Regions from separate parts of the Homo sapiens genome. Here regions 2, 3 and 4 are each linked to region 1. Evidence: promoter capture Hi-C in human tissues and cell types (Jung and others, 2019). All regions are on one chromosome and are shown on one strand. Each heading gives the region's core, a stretch centred on a gene start or on the middle of the fragment in contact. The rest is flanking DNA. Distances are from core to core; before and after follow the strand shown.

Region 1 (4,582 bases), core at 1,496-3,995:
TGCTTGAGCCCAGGAGTTCAAGACCAGCCTGGGCAATATAGTGAGACCCTGTCTGTATTCTAGAAACAGAAAAAAATAAAATAAAAAGGATACGATAGGCTGGGCACGGTGGCTCACGCCTGTAATCCCAGAACTTTGGGAGGCCGAGGTGGGTGGATCACGAGGTCAGGAGATTGAGACCATCCTGGCTAACACGGTGAAACCCCGTCTCTACTAAAAATACAAAAAGTTAGCTGGGTGTGGTGGTGGGTGCCTGTAGTCCCAGCTACTCAGGAGGCTGAGACAGGAGAATGGTATGAACCCGGGAGGCGGAGCTTGCAGTGAGCCGAGATTGCGCCACTGCACTCCAGCCTGGGTGACAGAGCAAGACTCTGTCTCAAAAAAAAAAAAAAAGGATACGATAAAGGATACAGGTAAATGGCCAGATAAAGAAGTATGTAGGAGGCTGGACACAGTGGCTCAAGCCTGTAATCCCAGCACTTTGGGAAGCCAAGGCGGGTGGATCACCTGAGGTCAGGAGTTCGAGACCAGCCTGGCTAACATGATGAAACCCCGTCTCTACTAAAAATACAAAAATTAGCTGGGCGTGGTGGTGCACACCTGTAATCCCAGCTACTCAGGAGGCTGGGGCAAGAGGATTGCTTGAACCCGGGAGGCAGAGGATGCGGTGAGCCTAAATTGTGCCACTCCACTCCAGTCTGGACAACAGAGCAAGAATCTGTCTAAAAATAATAATAATAATACATAGAGCAAGGTCTGGAGGGGTCCCAGGGAGTTGGGGTGTGCCACCCTTCTGGTGTGTTGGATGTGTTCACCAACCTGGAAACTCTCTGAACCTCGTACTTTAGGGATTTTTATGGAAGCTTCATCACATAAGCATTATCAATTATTAACTCAATCTCGAGCTCCTCTCCCCACTCCAGAGGATGAGGTGGGACTGAAAGCCCCAAGCTCATAATGATGGCTTTGTCTTTCTAGTGACCAGTCCCCATCCAGGAGCCCACCAAGTGTTGCCTCATTAGAACAGAAAACACTTCTGTCACCGAGGAAATTAGAAGGGTTTTAGCAGCTCTGGCCAGGAGCCAGGGAGGAACACCAGTGCATATTTCTTAGTGGATAGACCTAGGATTTTAAATTTTGTAATTCTTAGGTGCCTCCCTAAGTAGAAAAGGAGAGTTATGCCGTGGGATTCTTTTAAGAAGAGACCAGAGATTCCCTACTTCCTGCCCCATTCATGAACTGCACCTTGAGGCTTGTTTTGAAGATGTGCGTATCATAAGAAGACGGGCATTACAGTTGTATGGCAGCAGGAGTGGGAAGGTGGGCTCAAGCTCAAGTCCCTCCCTGCCAAGGCCCACATCCCTGAGTGGCTGTCACCCATTCTAACGTCCTGATTAGAACTCTCTTGCAGAAGTGTGCCTCCACTCTGGCTCCTTCAGCTCTGTGTGCCAAGTGCCTACAAGGATAAAAATCAAACCAGCCTTCCCTAGGATCAAAGGAGAACCTGAGCAGGAGTGCTGTAGCTGGCAAGGCCCCAGAAAGGGCTGCATGGGCTGAGCTGGAGTCAGGAATCATTTCAGTGCAGTGGGCCCTTTGTCTCCAAGAGTACTAATCCCCCTAATGGGGAAGCAGCGAGAGGGTGTGGTTAAATCTTAATGAAGAGTGGGACTGAAGGTAACACACTGATCAAAGACAATTCAGCCAGAGTCAGATTCTTTATCCTAGACCAGTGATTCTCAAGCTTGGGCATGGACTGTGGCTCATGCTTGTAATCCCAACACTTAGGGAGGTGGAAGTGGGAGGAACAATTGAGGCCAGGAGTTTGAGATTAGATGGAGCAGCACAGTGAAACCTCATCTGTACAAAAAAAATTTAAAATTAGCCAGGAGTGCTGGTGCACACCTGTAGTCCTAGCTACTCAAGGCTGAGAAGGGAGGATTACTTGAGCCTGGGTCAAGGCTGCACTAAGCTATGATTGTGCCACTGCACTCTATCCTGGGTGACAAAGCAAGACCCTGTAAAAAAAAAAAAAAAAAAAAAAAAAAAAAAATCAAGCCTGGGCATGCATCGGAATCACCTGGAGGCATGAAAACAGATTGCTGGGCCTACCTCCAGAGTATGATTCCATAGATCTGGGATGCGGCCTGAGAATTTGCATGTCTAACAAATTCCCGCTGAGGCTGCTGGTCTAGGGACCATACTTGGAGACCACTGTCCAGATACTGCTGCTATTCAAAGTGTGGTCCCCAGACTGGCAACATGGGGGTCACCTGGGAGCGTATTAGAAATGCAAAATACTGAACTCTGCCCCAGACCTTCTGAATCAGAGCCTGCAGTGCAACAAGATCCCCAGGTGATTCCTATACACATTAAAGGCTGAGAAGGCAGTGCTTCCCACACTCGTCAGTCAAGGGAATCTCCTGCAGGGTTTAAAATTTAGATTCCTGGGCTCCCTATCTGGAGACTTGGATTTAGAAAGTTTGGGAGATCCCAGAAATTGCTACAATTAAGTCCCGCTGAGTGATTATTATGGTCAGGCCAGCATGGGAACTCCGGCTCATTTTCCTCAGTCCTGTGTTCCTTGGACAAGACTAAGCCACAAAGCCAGAGAAAAACCTTTTGCTCCACGATCATGACAAGGCAGCAGCTGCTCCCCTAGAAACAGGAACTTGGGGAAGGTGGCTCCTCGACGGTCTGTGATGCCGTCAGAGGAAACGGGTGGTTGTGAGAACCACAGAGTCTGCAGTCGGAGCTAGAGCTCCAAGGACCCCACGCCTGTGTCTCTGTGACAGAGCTCAAAGGGCCCTGGGCCTTCCCTCCCTGGCTCGGCTGTGCTTGGGAGGGTTCCCCAGTCCAGAATCCCTAAGGAGCATGGGGCAGCTGATCCATCCCTGGTGTACAAACTGCTGACTGCAGACAGATGCTGAGCTACCCAAACCAACACCTAGCCTCTCCCTGAAGATCCTCCCAGGCTGAGAGAGTTCTGGGTGTCCTAGGACCAAGGACACTGGCAGACTTCCAGAAGGGCCCCCAAAGCCCTAACCTGTCCAGCCAGAGCATGCGTCTCAGCAGAGCTGTCTTCCCAAGCCTTTGATGACAAACCAGTAAGTATGCTTGCTTTTGTTCTTGGATGGCCTGGAGACAGGTGAGGAAGAATGGTCTCCCCTGCCCCGACTGGGACTGGGCTTTATTTGCTGTTGGGAAAAAAACAAGCTCAAGGAGAAGGGGGAGTGGTTCTACTGAGGCTGTAAAGAGGGGTGGTTTCTGGGGGTCCCAGAAGAACCAAGACTCACCTGCTCCACCTTTGACCTCCTCTTGGAGCTTACGCTCTTCCGTGCAGCTTGTCTTCACGCCCGTCCTAGTCCCATCTCAGGTGCGCACTTGCTGTGTGACTTTGGGCCCCTCTCTGCGCTGCAGTCAGACTCCAAAGTCAGGAACGTGAGGGCTACCATCTCTCAAGACATTTCAGCTGTAGAGCCTACAGTGCACTCTCACTCTCAAAGGGGTGATATTTCTCAATTGGAAGAGAGGGAGAGGTCTCCCTTTAACTCAATCCAAATTCATTTTTTTTTTTGAGTTGGGGTCTCATTCTGTTACCCAGGCTGGAGTGCAGCGGCGTAATTATGACTAACTATAGACTTGAACCACTGGGCTCAAGTGATCCTCCTGCCTTAGCCTCCCAAGTAGCTGAGACTACAGGCATGTACCACCATGCCCAGCTAATTCGTTATATTTTTGTAGAGATGGCAGGCGGTGGTGGGGGTGGGGGTGGGGGTTCTCACTATGTTGCCCAGGCTGGTCTCGAACTCCTGGCCTCAAGCAATCCTCCTGTCTCAGCCTCCTAAATTGCTGGGATTACAGGCATGAGCCACTGTGCCTGGCCAAATTCATCACTCTTACCCCCACTGCTGAAAAATGATCTTCAGAAGCACAAAATACACATGATGGCAGGCCCAGTCCTGCACGAATGGGCTACATGAACAGAATCACATGGTTGTCCTCTCAGGGACTTGGTCACTGTATCTGAAATGGGACCCAAGTGAGATACTGAAAAAAAAAAAAAAAAAAAAAACACAATATTCTGGGCAGCGTGCTCATCTCGGCTGCCGTTGACTAACTTTTTCCTTTCACCCGATGCCTCATGTCCTCCGGAAAGTGCCTGGCACATAGTAAGTTTTTCAAAAATTTGTAGAGTTAATGATTTGATGCTGTCTTACAAAATGTGCGGCTAATACTCTGCCTCCTCCTAGGCTGGCCCATTGTATGGTCTTTATTTTGCCCCCAGGGGCTTATTGGCCTTGACCTGACCAAGTCCTTGACCAGGTGAAGGGAGCTGCAGAGACTTTGGGGAGGCTTTCAGCCTGAGTACAGCTCCCCTGTCTCCATCTGCCTTTGGGCCCAGCCCCCAGCTCCACCTGCGGCAGGAAGGAGTCTCTCAGTTTATTGCAGGTGGTAACTGTGGTCTTCCTGAAGGAGGGGAAAGGAAACTAAGCCTTACTGAGCACCCACTCTGTGCCAGACTCCTGCAACTCTCCCCACAGCCCCGTGGCGCCTGTAGTGCACCTTGTTCACAGATGAGACG
Region 2 (4,582 bases), core at 604-3,103, 240 kb before region 1:
TCCACAAAGGTTTCGACCTCTTTGTCCAAAAATGCATATTACTCATTTACTCCTTTCATACCTTCATTGTGAAATTAAATAACAGACTCACAAGCACCTGGCACTGGTGGCAGACAAAAAGGCCTCAACATTCTGCAGCAGGCCAGAGGAGGAACGACGCTGCTACAGTATTTATTAGTTCCAGTGCTCAAGCCCAGGTTTCTAAGGTTTGACAATATTCTGTAAGTTAAAATCATTTCCACACATACAGAGTAGAATCCTGTTTTTGTAAGTATACACACACACACACACACACATTCATGGAACATTGTCTGGAAGGATATACATGAAAATGTTAAGAGTTGGGGGGGGTTGAATTTTAGGCAATTTTAATTTTTTTAACGTCTTCTGGTTTTTCTACAATAAACATGAATCAGTTGTAGAACCTCTAAAATGATAATGTTCATGAGGTTGGTTTTCCTCGTTCAGTAGCTGGCGAGGAACAGCATAGTGAAAAATCTTCCCTTTGCCAGGAGGCAGGCACTAGCGGGGAAGAGATGTGGATTTTTCTGAGTTTTCTAAGACCCTGTTAGCTTAGGGTCTCTGTGCTGCTTGAGTAAGGTGTAAGCGTCTTTTAATCCTTCAAAGTCACCTCTGCAAAAGAGCAGTGCCTGCCCCCACCTGTATCTTGGGTCCCCAGGCCACAAGGAGGCTGGCCAGCAGCCTCGGCCAACTCTAGGGCCCTTCACCATCTGTGTTTCAAACAGCACAGGCTGCTGTGTGTCAGGAAGGCCTGGGTGGCATCATGAGCAGGGCTGAGTACCTGTTGCCGCAGGGCTGTCAGCTGAGAAGCCAAGCCTCCAGCTCCTGGATGCAGAACTGCTCCTGCCGGGCCAGCACCTCGTTGTTGAAGGTCGGGCAAGGGGAGCTTCCCCCGCGGAACAAGTCTCCATCCAACCACAGCCCAAACCGGCCACTAGAGAGAAGAGGACAGTCTTGGTGCGGCTCACTCCTGTGTGCTGAAACCCCCAGGCTCTGCCACCAGCATCAGCTCTTGGCCATGCCAGGACGGCAGCCCAGTTTCACCTGTCTTATCGCCCCTTAAAGCAATTTATACTGAATTATTGGGGACTCAGCACATTGTTCCCCATGGGGTTAAGAGCTTTATTTATTTATTTGTTTATTTATTTATTTATTTATTTATTGAAACGGAGTCTTGCTTTGTCACCCAGGCTGGAGTGCAGTGGCACGACCCTGGCTCACCACAACCTCCACCTCCCGGGTTCAAGCAATTTTCCTACCTCAGCCTCCCTAGTAGCTGGTATTACAGGCCGCCCACCACTATGCCTGGCTAATTTTTGTATGTTTAGTAGAGATGGGGTTTTGCTATGTTGGCCAGGCTGGTCTTGAACTCCTGACCTCAAGCGATCTGCCTGCCTTGGCCTCCCAAAGTGCTGGGATTACAGGTGTGAGCCACTGCGCCTGGTCAAGATGGCAATTTTTTTTTTTTTTTTTTTTTTTTGATAGGAGTCTTGCTCTGTCGCCCAGCCTGGAGTGCAATGGCGCGATCTTGGCTCACTGCAAGCTCCACCTCCCGGGTTCACACCATTCTCCTGCCTCAGCCTCCCGAGTAGCTGGGACTACGGGTGCCCACCACCACGCCTGGCTGATTTTTTGTATTTTTAGTAGAGATGGGGTTTCACCATGTTAGCCAGGACGGTCTCGATCTCCTGACCTCGTGATCCGCCCACCTCGGCCTCCCAAAGTGCTGGGATTACAGGCACAAGCCACCACGCTCGGTCCAAGATAGCAATTCTTAATACAAAAATTAGCCGGACGTGGTGGTGGGCAACTGTTGTCCCAGCTACTCGAGACGCTGAGGCAGGAGAATCACTTGAACCCAGGAGTCGGAGGGTGTGGTGAGCTGAGATCACACCACTGCACTCCAGCCTGGGCGACAGAGCGAGACTCTGTCTCAAAAAAAACAAAATGGCAATTCTTTAACCAAAGCTAGTACATCTCAGGGTGCAAACTCTGAGAGCCCAAATGCTTCAGAGCGTCCATTCTAATCCCCTTATTTGACAGAAAACCTCGGCTGAAACCAGGAAGTGAATTCCTGCAGATCAGCAATGGCTGATGTGTTCTGTGCCAAGCTGCCCCTCAGTGGAGGCTTTTCAGGCAGTTGGGAGAGCAAAGAATTTGCCTGGTACTAATCAAGCAATGCTCTCATCCCCGCCCTCAGGATAAGACGCATGCCCCCTGAATGTGAAGGTCACACCAGGATGAGATCAACTTTTTTTTCCTACCTCTCTCTACCCCGTCCTCACCGAGGGAGGTTCCTGCAATGAGTTATGTCCCCTGCAATTCCTGGGCTGGTGGAAAAACGAGGCACACTCATCTCTTGACGCTAGTCTCATCCAACCATGTGGAATTCTTTTCCCAAAGTTGCATACATTCAGACTAAACTGTCACCAGCTGTAACACTTCAGTGGGGGCACTCATGCATCCTTTCTCCTTAATACTGGCTTAGCGTGAGGTTGAGGGGGTTGGCTGGGAGGCTGAGCAATGAGGGGAACGGCCTGAGAGTTCCCCACTAGCCTCGCCATTGCATCAAGGGCAGCCTAGCCCAGCAGTTCGGCAGAGGGAAAGGGACCAGAACACAGACCGCCCCAAGACTCGGGAAGACTGAGACACTCACCTGCCACTGCCCATCATCAGTGAATCCAAGTCTCCCTTCACAAAGAAAGAGTTGCTTCCAGTCCACTTAAAGACCTGGGTGATACATAGGGAAAGGCTCAGGTTACTAAGCGAGCGAGTCCCGCCCTTGCAGTTTGACCCCGAACCACTGGATGGCAGTGTTGTGGCGGGAACAGCATCCAGGCCCCAACCGAGCCGCAGGTGGGACTCCGGGCTCAGGGATCTTGGGGTTTATCTTCTCAGTCTCCTTGGAGTCACCACCGCATGCCCTCTAGTTTGAATTCCTACAGCCTAGAAGCCTCTTTGTTCTAGAATAGGACAACGACCCCTGAGGCTTCCTGCTTCCAAAGCTGGAGGGAGGAGGGGAGCAGTCCAGGCCAGGAGTGGGAACTGATACTGCCCTTCTAACTAACTCTCACCCGGACAACACCAGCCCGCCTGCTCTTCAGTGCTGCCTCACATCCAGCTCATCAACAAGCCTCGCAGCTCTAGACACAGCGGGCCTGCCGCCATTTCTATCCCGTCCTCTGCCTGGATCACAGCCTCCCAGCTGGTCCCTCTGCATCCACTGTCTGTACCTACAGCCATACCCACACTGCAATCTGCGTGATCTGTTCTACGTCCAAATCAGATGTTATCTCTCCTCTGCCTAAGTCCTCCAATGGCTTCCCATTGCAATGGGGATAAAATTCAACTCCTTAACAATGGCCAGAAGTGCAGCCTGGGACTGGCGCAGTGGCTCATGCCTGTAATCCCAGCAATTTTTTAACTAGCTAGGTGTGATGGTGTGCACTTGTAATCCCAGCTACTCAGTAGGCTGAGGCGGGAGGATCACTTGAGGCCAGGAGTTTCCTCGAGGTCAGGAGTTCTAGACCAACCAAGGCAACATAGTAAGACCCTCCCCTATCTCTAAAAAAAATTTTTTTTCTCTCTCTTTTGAGACAGAGTCTCGCTCTTTTGCCAGGCTGGAGTGCAGTGGCGCAATCTTGGCTCACTGCAACCTCCGCCTCCTGAGTTCAAACGATTCCCCTGCCTCAGCCTCCTGAGTGGCTGGGACTACAGGCACGCACCACCACGCCCGGCTAACTTTTTGTATTTTAGTAGAAACAGGTTTCACCATGTTGCCCAGGCTGGTCTCAATCTATTGACCTCGTGATCCGCCTGCCTTGGCCTCCCAAAGAGCTGGGATTACAGGCTCGAGCCACTGCGCCCGGCCCTAAAACAAATTTTTAAACCTAGCTGGTCACAGTGGTGTGCACCTATAGTCCCAGCTACTGGGGAGGCTAAGGTGGAAGGATCACTTGAGCCCAGGAGTGGAGGCTGCAGTGAGCTATGATCGCACCACTGCACTCTAGCGTGGATAACAGCGCAAGACCCCAACTCTAAAAAACAACAAAAAAACTGTCAAAACTTAAAAAGTGCAGCCAGCTCTAACCCCTGATTTTCTCTCTGGCCCCTTCTCCCCCTTATTGACTACACATTAGCCACACCAGTCTTTCCATCCCTGGAACACCCAAAGCCCATTCCTGACCTAGAATCCCTCTGCCCAGAATGCTCTTCCCCTAGATCCTCAGAGGGCCCACCTCTCATCCTTCAGCCCAAATATCATCTCAGAAATTTCCTGGACCACCCTATCTGAAGTAGCCCTTCCTCCCAGACCCTGTTTCATTCCTCTTTATTTATTTATATTAAGGACGTTAAGTTCCGTGTGGCCTGTCTTCTTCCTGGCTGTATTCCTGGAACATATATATTTATTGAATGCAAAAATTATTCAAGAGTCAAAATAGTTTTAAAGGGCTGCAAAACGATAGGATGTTATTGCCTTAATCAGTGGCCCAAAATGCTGTGAGCAACCAAAGGGTTTTTAGCCGGAAAACAGACTAATAAAAGATACGTCCTATGCTCA
Region 3 (4,582 bases), core at 604-3,103, 160 kb before region 1:
CCAGCCTGGCCAACATGGAAACCCCGCCTCTACTAAAAATACAAAAATTAGCCAGGCGTGCACTAGCACGCCTGTAATCCCAGCTACTCAGGAGGCTGAGGCAAGAGAACCGCTTGAACCCAGGAGGCGGAGGTTACAGTGAGCCGAGATCATCCCACTGTATTCTAGCCTGGGTGACAGAGTGATATCTAAAAAAAAAAAAAAAAAAAAAGAATGAAAGAATGTCAAGGGAAACCTGAGTCTTCAGCCCCTGTGCCCTGCTGGGATGTTATTGTCCTTGCCATTGTGCATTAGTTGTGTAACAGGGCTGTCATTGGCGGCCTGTGGGACCTGGGGCCAGTCCTGTTTTCTCTCAGGACCTCAGTTTCCCATTTATGAAATGGTGCCCTCATCAGGCCTGGCTTCTAATCAAGATAATAGTTCTGGAATAACATTTGTTAAGCCCTTACTGTATGGTGGGCCTGTCCAATGCACTTTCTACCCATTATGTCTTTTAATCCTTGTGCCCTCCCTTATCACCATTTTGCAGATGGGGAAACTGATGCCCAGAGAGCTGGAGTGCTCTGCCCAGGGTTGCACATCCAGAGTGTGGCAGGGCTGGGCCTCTAATCCAGGTCCCTCTGTTAGGCATGACACTGCATTGCTTCCTAGGGTGTTGCCTAGTCATCAGCTGTCCTCAACCCTGGCACGCCCTTTGCTCTCCATGCGTCACCCCTCCCTGCTATCATCGCTCACCCTCGCAGGTTCCTCATTGAACATGAGCATTCGTGTGAGACATTTGGTGCCCAGGAGGTGCTCAGTATATGATGTCATGGTTTTTTAGAGCCAGGGTCAAATCCCAGCTCCTTCAATGATGTGTCACTGTTTTTGCAGGAGCAGAGGGCAGTGCTCATCTGAATAGATTGCGCCACGTGTGGTGGGATCCCCGGCAGGGATCACTCACAGGCACCACCCAGACTTTCCTCCCTGCCCCTGTCCAGGGGCCCAGAAAGGGGTGGGGGAGAGGACAGGGCCCTGGGGTTGCTCAAGCTCTTGTCCCCCGGCAGCTGAAGGAGGACCAGCAGAGGGCGCTCCTGAGGCGGGAGTTTGAGCTGCAGAGTCTGAGCCTCCAGCGGAGGCTGGAGCAGAAATTCTGGAGCCAGGAGAAGAACATGCTGGTGCAGGAGTCCCAGCAATTCAAGCACAACTTCCTGCTGCTCTTCATGAAGCTCAGGTGGTTCCTCAAGCGCTGGCGGCAGGGCAAGGTTTTGCCCAGCGAAGGGGATGACTTCCTCGAGGTAAGATTGGGCCAGGGACTGGGACTGGGAGTGTGGGCTGGGGAGAGAGGGACAGGGAAGGGACGCCCAGCTGGTATTGACACAACTCCTAGGCTCACATACCTGCCATCAGCATGCAGGCTTCCTTCCTGCATTCGTTGCTTTTTTTTTTTTTTTTCCGAGATGGAGTCTCACTCCAGCCCAGGCTAGAGTGCAGTGGTGCAATCTCAGCCTGCTGCAATCTCCATCTCCCGGGTTCAAGCAATTCTCCTGCCTCAGCCTCCCGAGTAGCTGGGATTACAGGCACATGCCACCATGCCCAGCTAATTTTTGTATTTTAAGTAAAGACAGGGTTTCTTGGCCGGGTGCGGTGGCTCACACCTGTAATCCCAGCACTTTGGGAGGCCGAGGCGGGTGGATCACGAGGTCAGGAGATCGAGACCATCCTGGCTAACATGGTGAAACCCCGTCTCTACTAAAAATACAAAAAATTAGCCAGGTGTGGTGGCGGGTGCCTGTAGTCCCAGCTACTCGGGAGGCTGAGGCGGGAGAATGGCGTGAACCCAGGAGGCGGAGCTTGCAGTGAGCCTAGATTGTGCCACTGCACTCCAGAGTGGGAGAGAGAGCAAGACTCCTTCTCAAAAAAAAAAAAAAAAAAAAAAAAAAAAGACAGGGTTTCTCCATGTTGGCCAGGCTGATCTCTCAAACTCCTGACCTCAAGTAATCCACCTGCCTTGGCCTCCCAAAGTGCTGGGATTACAGGCATGAGCCACCATGCCTGGCCAAAAGATATGTTTACTTAACAAGAGGGAGTAGGCTGGCTTAAAAACATTGGTGATAGTACAGGTGGTATTAGGATGTGGCAGGAAACGTGGGGGCGGAGCTCTGGGAATGTAAGAAGCTTAGAAAGGACCCACCTGACCCATTCATGCCCCAGTCTATGCAGGACCCTTTGCTGCTCAAAGCCCTTGCGTCCTGTCATCAGCACAGCAGCACACATCAACACATCAGGGAAGAGAAGGGGACTTACAAGGATGTCAGACCTTGGTCACACTCATCTTAGTTGACATTGTTCACTTTGGCCGTGTCCTTTTGGGTTCAGGTACCTCGAGTCTAGCCCAGGCTTGGCCCTCCTCTAGTCCAGGCTGCTCTCTGTAGTCCCCTGTCCAGATCCAGTAGGGAGCATTGGCATGCCTCAAGTTGCCACTTACGCCATCAGGGGTACTCCAGAGGAGCCCAGATGCCCCAGGAGCCAGGCAAGACAGTTAGACCTGAGTGTGTAGCAAGACCCTGCATCACCCTATCTCAGTGGGGCTCATCATTCTCGCAGGCCACCAGCTCCTCCCCAGGGCCTCATGGGAGAGTCACTACCGCCATTCCATAGGCCCACACCCTGCTGCCCTGGCCCTGCAGTGCCTGACACAGGGCCGCCCCTGGGAGCATTCGCCTCGGTCCTCCTGTCCGAAGCTGTCTCTTCTGTGACGTTTGGAAACATAGGAGCCCTCTCACCTGTTTGGAAGTCTCACAGGCCTCTGGATGAAGCCCAGTTTAAGGGAATGACCTGCAGGCCACACAGTCTATATTTTAAGTCAGTTTGTCTCAGACGAACCCTCCACATTTGGTGAAAACCTTTCTAGCCATTTCCATATCCTAGAGTAAAAGAGAGAGAAACTTACTTTAGGGAAAAAAAATTAGGGCATAAACATAGAAAATTGGCTAGGTGCAGTGGCTCACACCTGTAATCTCAGCACTTTGGGAGGTTAAGGTGGGCAGATCACTTGAGATCAGGAGTTCGAGACCAGTCTGGTCAACGTGATGAAACCCTGTCTCTACTAAAAATACAAAAATTAGCTGGGAACGGTGGTGCACACTGGTAGTCCCAGCTACTCAGGAGCCTGAAGCAAGAGAATCTCTTGAACCTGCAAGGCAGAGGTTGCAGTGAGCTAAGAGCATGCCATTGCACTCTAGCCTGGATGACACAGTGAGACTCCATCTCAAAAAAAAAATAAAGAGACACAGAAAATTACATAACATATATAATTAAGAAATATATACATTTACCAAAATAAGCATAATTAATAAGATATAAACATAATCATGCTGGGCATGGTGGCTCGCGCCTGTAATCCCAGCATTTTGGGAGGCTGAGGCAGGAGGATTGCTTGAGCACAGAAGGTGACTCGCTCCCTTTTGTCTTATTTCCATCCTGAACTAGGTCCCTGATCTCCTTGGCTGGCCCTGGACTCTTGCCCAGAATCTATCAGCAAGCAGTCCAACCCCCCAGCAAGGTCCCTTCTGTCCACCCAAACCTTTGGTCACCCTTATGTAGCATTGTGGGAGTGCGTGTGGCCTTTTCATTTCAACCACAGTGCCTGCCTTGACCCAGCCTGTCAACATGGTTATTTCAGAGTGACTCTCAGGGATGCTTCCTGGTCTTTGGGGCAGAATAGATGTCGTGGGAGGCTAGGAGGGCCTGACTATCCAGCCGTGCTCCTCGACCTACATGGTGCCCAAGGTTGGAATTAAAATTTGGGAAAACTTCCCACCTGCTGTTAAGCATGGTTTTTAAAAAACAGGTGAACAGCATGAAGGAGCTGTACTTGCTGATGGAGGAAGAGGAGATAAACGCTCAGCATTCTGATAACAAGGCCTGCACGGGGGACAGCTGGACCCAGAACACGGTGTGTTTCCAGCCCCTTCCCGGTCCTGTTGTGTCCATTCATTCCTTTGTCTGCTCAGTAATCAATTCCTACTGCTTTCTCTGACCCCATTCCTGGACATTGAAGTTGCAAGTTATTGCCTGGTCATCCCAGGGCAGTAACAGAGTCCAGATGATGGACTGTGGGGTCATAGGCAAGACAGCAAGTAATTCTCTTTGCAGTATAGGGGACAATATCACGGTGAAGGGGTCATGGATGATGGGTTTTGAAGGATGTATAGGAGTTTACCTAATAGAGAATAGGGGAAAGACTATTCTGGACCAAGAGAACTCTGTGTGCCAAGGTGTGGCAAGGTGTTCTGGTATTGAGTATGGCTTGGGAGGTACATGGTAAGGGTAAGGATATCAGGCTAGAGTCATCTGAAGAGGGGCCTTGTGGTCTAGGGTCAGGAACCTTCAAATCAAGCCATAAGTCAGAGAGAACAGTGGGGTCAGGATCCCAGGGTCACACACGGTGAGCTGGGGTAGGGATGGGAAATGAGGGCATGGGCCCAGGAGAGAAGATTTGGGACAGAATCAGGCAAACTGAGGGAGTCTCCATGAATTAGACCCCACATCTGGCCTGCAGCGGGTCAGAGAGGCAGATCCTGAGTGAGGAGAAGGACCC
Region 4 (4,582 bases), core at 1,041-3,540, 160 kb after region 1:
AGCACATGGCTAAGGTGCCCATGCTGCCTGTCCACTGTCCTCCTTCAGGTCCTGCTTCCAGACACATGGCCCCACATGCTCTGACTCTCTCACCAGGAACACCGGAACCACTCACATGGGTTCCCAGCCACTTAGGACTTCTCCAGCGTGGCTGAGTCTGGTTCTGGGGATTCCCAAGGGGGCCTGAGGAAGGCTCTTTGGACTCTCACCCCACCCCAGGTCCCTCAGAACAGCCCCATTTCCCCTTTTTTCTCTGTACAGAATTCCCACATGTTATTCTGAGACCTACCAGACTAATTCACTCTCTCATAGTACACATAAAAAAGGACCAGGAAGGCAAATGCATGAGCTGAGGATCTGGCAGCAGAGCAGGGACCCTTGCCTGGGGCTATGAGTGTGGGAATGTTCCTGGTTTCCCCCCAGCCTGGAGAACACCAGTTCCGGGCATTCAGGGAGGCATCCTCCCGTAGCTGAGCTCTGCCTCCTCTAGCCCCTGACCACTGACCTCCAAATAGTATGTCCAAATAGCATGTAGTTTCTGAAAAACCATTTCTACTACCACTGCAGCCATATCCAGTAAGCAGCCTGTCAGGAACCATCCACTCCTCACCCATTATGTATTGGAATCTGCCACAAACATCATTTTATTTATCCTCAGAGACCCACCTGCAGAGTCTGCTCTGCCAAGAGCTCTGCTCAGTGGTCCCTGCCCCAGCCCACCCTGGACACCTTATTACCATCATCCCTAGGAATCCAAGCTTTAAAGAGATGGTAGCGCCCAAGCTACTGTTACTAAATCACGATCTTGTTGTTTATCAAAGCTATAACCATTTGGCCGGGCATGGTGGCTCATGCCTGTAATCTCAGCGATTTGGGAGGCTGAGGCAGGGGGATCACTTGAGGTCAGGAGTTTGAGACCAGCCTGGCCAACATGGTGAAACCCTGTCTCTACTAAAAATACAAAAATTAGCCGGGCATGGTATCTCATGCCAGTAATCCCAGCTACTCAGGAGGCTGAGGTGTGGGGATCACTTGAACCCGGGAGACAGAGGTTGTAGTGAACCAAGATCATGCCACTGCACTCCAGCCTGGACAACAGAGTTAGACCCTGTCTCAAAAAAACAAAAACAAAAACAAAAAAACAACCCACGAGAAGCAGGTGCTAGTAAGCAGGAGAAACCGCCCAGTTACAAAGCTGCCTCGGCTCCAGCCCAGTGCAAAAACTTGACATGTGCAGCCCGCTTGGTCTGGTGAAGGACTGAGGGTAGAGAATGCAAAATGTGGCTTTTCAAATACTGGCTGTATCATACGAGCTTTGCTGCTACCTTTCCAAAGCCCTAAGATCCCAGAGCCCAGCCTGGGAAGTATTACTTGGAAAGAGCCTCAAAAAAACTACCCTCACTTCTGGAGGGCTGATGTCAATGGAGGGCTGACTTCAAACCCTGGCGATAGGTCACAAAAGCCCGGCTTTCACCAACTGTCATAGGCTGTGTGTCCAGTGTGCAAAGCCAGACGCTGCCAGGCCCTGTGCACCTCGATTGCTGGCCTCTTTCACCATTCTGAATGACCAAGCGAATCCCAGAATAGAAAGGCAGTGTTAACAAGCTCATTCACTGGGCCTGGAGTGGCAGGTGGCATATCAGGTGACAGGAGTAGGAGCCAAGATCCCTCGGCAGCCTAGAGTTGGGATGAGACGAATAGTGCAGGACTGAATGGGGAAAACCGTGAGTTCACTTCAGGTCAGCAGAGGTAATGCTGCCTGTCTCTGTGCCAGGCACACCCGGGGGACAGAGACACAGAAAAACAGAGGGATTTTTTTTCCCTCAGAGCTTATATTAAGACCCTGAGTTTGGGAACCCAAGTAAGACAATTACACAAGAAAAGCGGCATATGTGGAAAAATGGCTTAGTGACGTCAGCTGACCACAGACACTGAGGATGCACTGTTACAGGAAAGTCACAGGACCAGAGAGGGCGCAGTCCCCACTGAACTCTGGATAATACTGAGGGTATCATAGGTAATTCCAGGCAAGGGATATCGTCAAACTGGAACCTGAAGACAGAAGGTGATCCACACAGGGAGAAGTCTCAACTCCACCCCATTCCAGCAAATGCTTATTTACAGAGGGAAAGCCATGCACAGTGCCAGCCACTAGGGACCCAGAATGAGTAGTCCTTGTCCTCAAGAAACCCATAGAAATGTGGAGATGACAATGAAAAGCCTCCTCCACTGACTGGGCACTGTGGCAGCCATATGGAGTTGCATGAGAAAGCCCAGGACTGATTCAACAAGTGATTAGTGTGTCTGGGACGGACTTGTCACAAACGGGGCGTGTGACACATATGCACCAAAAGTTGTGCTTAGCGTAAAGTGAGGGATGGCTTGGAGAGGCTAGGATGGTCACCCTGGAGAAGAGAGACAATTTAAAAGGGCATGGCTACTGTCCTCAAATACCTAAAAGACTGTCAAATACACATGTAGCCCCAGAGGGTCACACTACAATCAGAGGGGAAAAGGAAGGTGGGGATTGTTAATGGAAGTAAATTTTGACTAATTATAAAGAGGAGCTTTCTAAGAAGCAGAGCTGGCCAAAGATGGAAGAAGGACCTAGAAAATGGCCAGCCAGGCTAGACACAGGCAGGATGGATGCCAGGGAGGAAACTGAAGTCCCCATGGGTGTGACTTTTAAGATTCCTACCGGGCCTGAGACGCTCTTTGCCCTTCTACTTTACATCCAGTTCTGGACGTGATACCACACATCATCTTTGTGTGCATGACATTCATAGTTCAACATTTTTTTTTTGAGACAGTCTCACTGTCATCCAGGCTGGAGTGCAGTGGTATGATCACAGCTCACTGCAGCCTTGATAGCCCGGGCTCAAGCAATCCTCTCACCTCAGCCTCCCAAGTAACTGGAACCACAGGGGTGCACCACCATGCCTGGCTAATTTTTTTAGTTTTTGTAGAGATGAGGTCTCACTATGTTGCCCATGCTGTACTAGAACTCCTGGGCTTAAGCAATTTTTCCACCTAGGCCTCCTGAAGTGCTGGGATTACAGGCGTTGAGTTACCGTGCCCAGCCAACTTTTTGTTTAGAGACAGGGTTTCACTCTGTCACCTAGGCTGGAGTACAGGGTGTGATCATAGTTCACTGTAGCTTCAACTTCCTGGGCTCAAGTGATCCTCCCACGTCAGCCTCCCGAGTAGCTAGGACTACAGACATGTACCACTGCTCCTGACTAATTTTTTTAATTTTAATTTTTTGTAGAGACAGGGTCTCACTATGTTGCCCAGACTGATCTCAAACTCCTGGGCTCAAGCCATCATCTCACCCTGGTCTTCCAAGTGCTGGGATTACAGGCGTGAGCCACTGGTCTTTTTTACCCCCCTACCTCCGGAGAATTGTTATCAACAAACAGCGAAATACAAAATGAGAATGTTCACACAGCCTAGCCACACGGGAAATCTTGTGAGGACTAACACCAGGGCTTCAGACAGCAAAGTCTGGAAGTAAAACACCTTCGTCTGGGAAGTCTAGCTGCATAAGAGCTCCCATCTGAGATGATAAATCCATCCTCAGAATAGGAGATCAGCTGATACTTGCTACCCTGCCCCCTTCAAAATACCTGCTATGACAGAAACTGCCAGTAGGTTAGGAATCCCTGGAATCAGCCTTCATTCAGTGTATGACTTAAGCTCCTGGGTCTGAATTTCTCCCATCTATAAAATGAGAATAATGCGGCTTGCCCTGTCTATTGCCCTAGGACTGCTGTGAGTTTCCCAAGACAGGTGGGAAAGGGCTTGGCAGGTGAGGAACTGTCATTACAATTGCCTGAGGAGCCTAAACATCTCCTGAGCAAAGGGCCCACGGAGCTGCTGCCCAATCCCAGGCCCTCCATGGACTCTGCATGCCAGAAGCTGAGGATTTCTGGCCTGGGGCAGAAATGAGGGGTCTCATCCTGTCCAAGGACTAAGTTCGGGAAGATTCATTGCCCTGCCCAGCACCCCCAACCATCCAGCCCCTCGACACCGCACTGTAGCAGCACCATTCTAACATTTTAGTGTAGGGACCACTGGCCTCTCTGCCTTGTCAATCACCCCTCTAACTCTCCATCACCCCCTTCATGCCAACACACCATGCTCAGCTTCCAGGCCTCTGTGCTGCCTGAACACCCTCTTCCTCACTGATTCTGCCTCCTCCTTTAGGTATCAGTTCCAGCATCACTCCTGCCAAAAAGCCTTCCCTAACAGTCTTCCCAGGCCCCTGCCCTGGCTCACTCACTGAACAACATCCCACATTCAGGCACACCACAGGCCCTTGCCCACCACACTATTTTTACAAACCTCTTTACTTTTCTGCTTCCTCCTTTAGACCCTGAGCCTCCTGAAGGCAGGGTGGCATCCCTGTGACCTCCAATCCTGGCTCAAAAGAGGTACCCAGGTGAATGCCTGTTGACACTTAGGAGGCAGAACCCCACCCTCTCATTTCACCCTAAAAATGACACAGGCTGGCAGAGCCCTCATCCTAGAAGACTTTGAAGACTCTAAGTAGAGAAGAGTAAGAGACAACTTGGCAAGCAGA

What was found. Contacts are between HindIII fragments. The study calls those that stand out against the background at their distance.
Region 2: a fragment that was not itself captured here is called in contact with the fragment with the promoter of SLA2 in region 1 in 3 of the 25 tissues and cell types used here (IMR-90 fibroblasts, lymphoblastoid cells and spleen).
Region 3: a fragment that was not itself captured here is called in contact with the fragment with the promoter of SLA2 in region 1 in 1 of the 25 tissues and cell types used here (spleen).
Region 4: a contact is called between a fragment that was not itself captured here and the fragment with the promoter of SLA2 in region 1, in 1 of the 25 tissues and cell types used here (spleen).

The regions. Positions count from the first base shown.
Region 1 is chr20:36,644,359-36,648,940 of GRCh38, reverse strand. SLA2 (Src like adaptor 2) reads left to right here and starts at 2,745. Exons shown (of 8, transcript NM_032214.4): 1 at 2,745-3,104. The HindIII fragment of the contact is 4,817 bases long and covers 1,303-4,582 here.
Region 2 is chr20:36,885,624-36,890,205 of GRCh38, reverse strand. TLDC2 (TBC/LysM-associated domain containing 2) reads right to left here. Exons shown (of 7, transcript NM_080628.3): 5 at 2,678-2,751; 6 at 803-955. The coding sequence ends at 820. It also overlaps a transcript of SAMHD1 not described here. Among named protein-coding and RNA genes, the nearest start is that of TLDC2, 12 kb to the right of the region's middle. RefSeq lists an enhancer at 2,296-3,018. The HindIII fragment of the contact is 8,903 bases long and covers 1-4,582 here.
Region 3 is chr20:36,805,208-36,809,789 of GRCh38, reverse strand. MTCL2 (microtubule crosslinking factor 2) reads left to right here. Exons shown (of 15, transcript NM_080627.4): 8 at 1,047-1,277; 9 at 3,833-3,937. Among named protein-coding and RNA genes, the nearest start is that of DSN1, 34 kb to the right of the region's middle. The HindIII fragment of the contact is 7,987 bases long and covers 1-4,582 here.
Region 4 is chr20:36,479,223-36,483,804 of GRCh38, reverse strand. All of the region lies in intron 7 of DLGAP4 (DLG associated protein 4), which reads right to left. Among named protein-coding and RNA genes, the nearest start is that of MYL9, 60 kb to the left of the region's middle. The HindIII fragment of the contact is 6,952 bases long and covers 1-4,582 here.